Regions from separate parts of the Homo sapiens genome. Here region 1 is linked to region 2. The links are contacts of gene promoters, found by promoter capture Hi-C in blood cells and fetal thymus (Javierre and others, 2016). All regions are on one chromosome and are shown on one strand. The core of a region is centred on a gene start or on the middle of the fragment in contact, and the rest is flanking DNA. Distances in the headings are between cores, read along the strand shown.

Region 1 (2,700 bases), core at 146-2,645, 160 kb after region 2:
GCAGGCATCTCAAAGTGTTCAGAACTGAACCTATCCATTCAACTACTCTCCTCTTGTATTCTCACAACAGAAACCAAGAAATAACTCTCAAATTATCCATATTTCAAATCCCACATTCACTATCTCGGTTCAGGCTCCTATCACCCTTTAATTTGATGATTCATTGTTTAACTCTCCTAGCTGCACTTCCTACATCTAGTCTTGCCTTCAATCCTAGTCACTGAAGAGTGTTGTTGTTGTTTTTTTTTTCTACAACATCTCACACACTTTATCCCTAATAAAAACCCTTCTGTGCAGTCTATTACTCTTGGTGGCAGACAGAAACTCCTTAGGATGGCATGGGGTCTTTCATGATCTGACCTCTTTTACCTGCCCGCACTCCCTGACACTCATTCTCTCAGTCATGTTGAATCACTGTATTCCCCCAGGTCCCATTCTCTCTTTTGCCACTGATCATTTATACACATTGTTCCCTTTGCATGTAAACGCCTCTCTAATCTCGCCAATAGTTGTCTGACTGACTCCATTAGCTCTCAGTTTAGAGTTTTCCATACTAGGAAGATGTTACTGACCTGCCAAGTTTGGCCAAAGCATTCCTTTCCTGTATTCCTCTATCAACTTTGCATGTATTTATCATACTTTTCTTTAATGCCATGCATAGTTCTTGACATAATTTGAGTTGAATAATAGCTCAGAGGATAGCCAATGAGGTCATGACAGTCCAGAGAGGTCTAATTCAGAAGTTACCAAAAGTTACTAATCCTATGAATGTGTCACAGGAATAATTGTTTAATAATTTTGTTGAGCTGTAATTGACATATAATAAACTGAAATGTAAAGTACACAGTCTAATAAGCTTTTACAAATGAATACAGCTGTGAAACCAACATCATAATCAAGATAACAAACATCAATCACCCTCATTTGGGTTTTTCCACTTCTGTATTTCAAATAAAGCTATTATGAAACTTTGGTACAAGTATTACATGGATATGGATATTTAACTTAGGTAAATATCTAAGAGTGGAATAGTTGTATCATACATCTGATGTATGTTTAACTTTTTAATAAGCAAACTGTTTTCCAAACTCATTGTAGCCATTTACATACCTACAAGCAGTGTAAGAGAGATCCAGTTCCTCCACATTCTCACCAATTTTGGACAATATAATAGGTGTGAAGCAATTTCTCATTGTGATTTTAATTTGCATTTCCCCAATGTCTATTCATGTTGAGCAACTTTTTGTGTGTTTATTTTCCATCTGTATATTTTGTCTAATGAAGTGTGGTTCAAATCTTTTCTCTTATTTGATTGCTAATTTTCTTGTTATAGAGTCTTGATATTTCTTTACAAACCTTGCAGCACAAGTCCTTTATCAGGCAGGTAATCAGAAAATATTTTCTCTTGGTCTGTGGCTTGACTCTTTTCTTGTTCTTTTTAACTTTTTATAATGAAAAATTTCAAACTTACACATAGAATAATACCTGGGTGATAAAATAGTCTGTACAAGAAACCCTCATGACACATCTTTACCTATGTCACAAACCTTCACATGTACCCCAGAACCTGAAAAAGTTAAAAAAAGAAAAATTTTGATATAATGAAAACCAGATTTAGCAATTACAAAAACAACAATATTTTTCAAAATGCAGGTTCCATAATCATTTTTATAGTATGGGGCTAGCTGTCTTTGTTAAAATAAATTAGGAAACCTCAGAGCACTTTGCACAAAGGAATATTCATTCATTAAACTTTTATTTCACATACAGAGTCAAATGGGTGGACTTGATCCCAATAAAGAAAACCGTACTTCTTACTATGGATTGCTGTCATACATTTAAAAGAGACTGCAAACCCTTTGCTTTGGCAACTATTAAGGACCGGAAAGCATACAACAAACTTTCAGAGATGAGTTTTAGTTAAAGAAAGCTTAAAGTTGAGTTACAAAATAAAACCTATAGTATTAGAAATGCTTATGTAGAATAATGCCACAAATTGTTTTTTTAACAATTTAGAAGCCCTAACTAACTTTCTTTGTTCACATTTGCATATGAAATCCCATCCCCTTAGAATCTAGGACAGCTCCCCATAATCAACCATTAATATATCAATCAGCAGTAAATTGTATACATATTAAGCGTGAAAAATAAAGATTATGAAAAGCCTAGTGTTAGATCTTGCCACCAAATTTGAATAAAATACTTTTGGCTTTCAGATTTTTGTACTCTGACTTGTGAATAAGAGACTGTGGCCTGGGGTATGTTAACAGTAGGTAGGGTGGAAGTGGGGTAAAAGAGGAAGGCAGGTGGGCCGGCACTTTGGCATATTTCCTCTTCATAAGCAGATAACAGTGACAGGAACACTGGCTACTGAGTGTCATCCAATATTCTTTTTCTTTTTCTTTTTTTTTAACACACTTGAAGAAGTCACAGGAACTTATTTTTAAAAGCTCTTTGGAAGAAAGCAAATCATTTTCTGGGCACCCTTAAATCCAGAATGGGGGACAGGGATGAGGAAACAGTATCAGGGTCCTGTCCTGTTCTACACATTTTACATTTAATACTCCTAACCCCTCCTAACAATGTAATTCTCATTTTACAGATGTTGAATCTGAGGCAGAGAAGAAACTAAGCTAGGCAGCAGGGCCTGAGAACTAATTTCCGCCCACATGATGGGGAAGGGGCAGGGCTTGTGATTTG
Region 2 (2,700 bases), core at 19-2,518:
TGGCTCTTTTCCGCCAGCTGCGGCTGTTCCAGAAGCGCCGGGCTGCCGGTCCTGGCCTCGGCAGGGGCCGTGCGGGACCGAGGGGTGGCGGCCGAGGCATGTGGGGCGGGTGGGTTGCGCGCTGCTGGCACGGCGCGGGGACCCAGCGCGCCAGGCGGGAAAGGGGGGCGGCGGCGGGCGGGGACCCAGACCCGGAGGGGCAGCGGGCGCGTAGCGGGCCCCAGGACGCCCGGCCAGGGGATTGGCCTCTGCACCGCTGCTCAGGGCGCGTCCCTTGCCGCCTCTGGCGTCGACTCAAGCCTCCTCCTCCGAGCAGCCCTCAGTGGCGCCGCCTTAGTGCTCTGGGTCGAGCCCCGGGAGGGTTAGCCTGGGGACGGCAGGGGCGTGACCGTGGCGCGGAAGTAGGTGAGCAGCAGGGCGGCGCGCGGCGGTCAGGCCGGGACAGCCAGAGGGGCAGCGACATCTGCGGGCGGGCGGGCGGGAGGCGGACGCTTCCCGGGCGGAGCAGGGCCCTCCGGAGGACGCAGGCCGCGTCGAGGCTGAAGGGCCTCCCTGTCCGGGACGGTCAGCTGCCAAGTTCGGGCCCTTAGCGCGTGGCCCCGGGCCGCGGCTCGGAGCGGAAGCGTCGCCCCTGGCTGCGCGCTCATGCTGGTCCTAGCGCAGAAGACCCGGCGAGGTCCGCGAATTTTGGCTTAGCGTTTGTCAAGTCACCTCGAGCGACTCGGAGAGAACCCGGCTTTCCCACTAGGGACGGTGATCGCAGTCTCTTTCCTTTAGAAAGTTACTCCGATACTTTTGATCATCTGTCCATAGTAAGGAGGAAAAATAGCGTGGTTTGTCCCCGGGTGAGGGAGTGTTGGAGGATCCCGTCCAGTGGGAAGAGCCAGTTTTAGCGGAGCAGCGCGTCCAGCCCGCTGACACTTCAGCCTGGTAAAGGGTTAACTGCATCCTGCCGGTTCGGTTTACATGTAAATAGAGAGCAGCTGCTCCGCGCGGCCCCGGCTGGCTCTTTTAAGTTTTTGATTGGTTGCCAATGACATCACCGCCCGTGTTTTAACACCGAGGACCCAGAGCAGCTTCGGATAAACCCTCCTTAAAGAGATGAGGCCACGCCTTCTTACCCGCCCCCTAGGCTGCCCATTGGTCGCGGGGCTCTGTGAGGTAGCGGTCGGCTTTCTCCGGATTCTTATTGGCCCAACCCGCCGTCGGTCGGCGGCGAGTCCGCCCCCTCAGAACCTTACATTTACAGTGTAGCAAAAGAGAAAGTAACTATGTTGCTGCTGGAGATCAATGAAGCCGAGTGAATGGGGGCTGAATGTGCGAGTCCATAGCTGAAGAGGAGCGCCAGATGGTGGAGGAATACACTTATTTATGAAGTAAGTGGAAGTCACCGCGACTACTCCTGAGAGCCCGGGACTGGAGGTGGAGGATTGTAAGGCGGTGCTTGTGTGAGTGTGAGTGTGTGTGTTTGTGTGTGTGTATCTGTGTGTGTGTGAGAGAGAGACAGAGACAGAAAGATAGAGATGCGATGCTGACGGAGGAGCTACAGCAGGTAGGGTTATAAGGTTCCGGCCGTTGGCTCCTGCTACCCTGTGCGTTTACTCCCTGCAGTCTACTTGGATTTGGGGCGAAGAAAAAATGAGGTTTGTTGGGATGCTTTGCGGCAGTTTTAAATGCTCGGGGCTCATTAGTGCGCTGTGTGCCGAGGAGTGAAGCGGGGGGCGGGGGGATGTTAAGTGCTCCAGGAATGGGGAAGAAGCATTCTCTAACCACTTAATTTTCTCTCCAGCTCTTGCCTAGTGGTGGAAGGGAGAGGGGATAGCTCAGTATTTCTCTGGGAGATTTTCTGGGCCAGACTGGATGGTTTCACGGGCAGTATGTACGCCCGACCCTCTGCTGCAGGGATGCAGGTCTCTCTATACACTCCGTGTGTGTGTGTGTGAGCCTTGAACTCTGTGTGGAGGTGGGGGTCCCAGCGCGTGTCTCTGTGAACACGCTTATGCGTCCCTCTCAGAAGAAATGGTATGTTGATCCTGGACGTGTCCTACCAGGTAACACAATAGCAAAGACTTTCACCGCTTGGTCCAACCGGGAAACAGTTATAGCTTCTGGAATAGAACTCGCTCTTCAGAAAAAATACTACGCAAGGGAAGGGGGGTTGACTCCTTCGCTCCCATCCAAAGGTGGGTGAGAGAAACCCGAGTCGTTGGAGATCTGCCGACGTGATGGGTGCGTGCCCCGTGTGCGCGCGTGAGTGTGGATTCCGCCTGTGACACTTTGGTTCTGTGTCAGAGAATGGTGACGGTCGTGTGTAGACGGATGAGAATGGTGACGGTCGTGTGTAGACGGATGATAGATGGCATTTTTCCTGATAGCTCTTAAAGTTCGTTTAGGTGAGCGTCTCTTGGCGTGGGGTTTGGCGTCTTTGCTATGTGCATGTCTAATAGAAGAAGAAGAGTTAGCAAGCCTGAGTTGTAGAGTGCCCCTGTGCCTACAGGAGGAAGGAGCTGTCTTTTTGCAGACACTCTGAAATCAGAGATAGATCCGGTGGGCAACAATTCACTGTCCCTTTCAACGAGTACAGGCTAATTGGGAGGTCCTCTTTACGGAATCAGTACTCTTGAAGGGGGGATATCTGTATGGGATTGAAACCTTATACAACGTGGCTGCCTCCCATTGAGAGAAGCTCTAGGATGCACA

The links. The method cuts DNA at HindIII sites, captures the fragments that hold promoters and counts their contacts. A CHiCAGO score of 5 or more calls a contact.
Region 1: a fragment that was not itself captured here is called in contact with the fragment with the promoter of DUSP10 in region 2 in 1 of 17 cell types (total CD8 T cells); the score reaches 6.6 in total CD8 T cells.

The regions. Positions count from the first base shown.
Region 1 is chr1:221,581,606-221,584,305 of GRCh38, reverse strand. No RefSeq gene overlaps it. Among named protein-coding and RNA genes, the nearest start is that of DUSP10, 160 kb to the left of the region's middle. The HindIII fragment of the contact is 1,074 bases long and covers 859-1,932 here.
Region 2 is chr1:221,740,657-221,743,356 of GRCh38, reverse strand. DUSP10 (dual specificity phosphatase 10) reads left to right here and starts at 1,268. Exons shown (of 4, transcript NM_007207.6): 1 at 1,268-1,376. RefSeq lists silencers at 32-511, 2,232-2,281 and enhancers at 285-922, 732-931, 1,262-1,451, 923-1,560, 1,561-2,198 and 1 more. The HindIII fragment of the contact is 7,400 bases long and covers 1-2,700 here.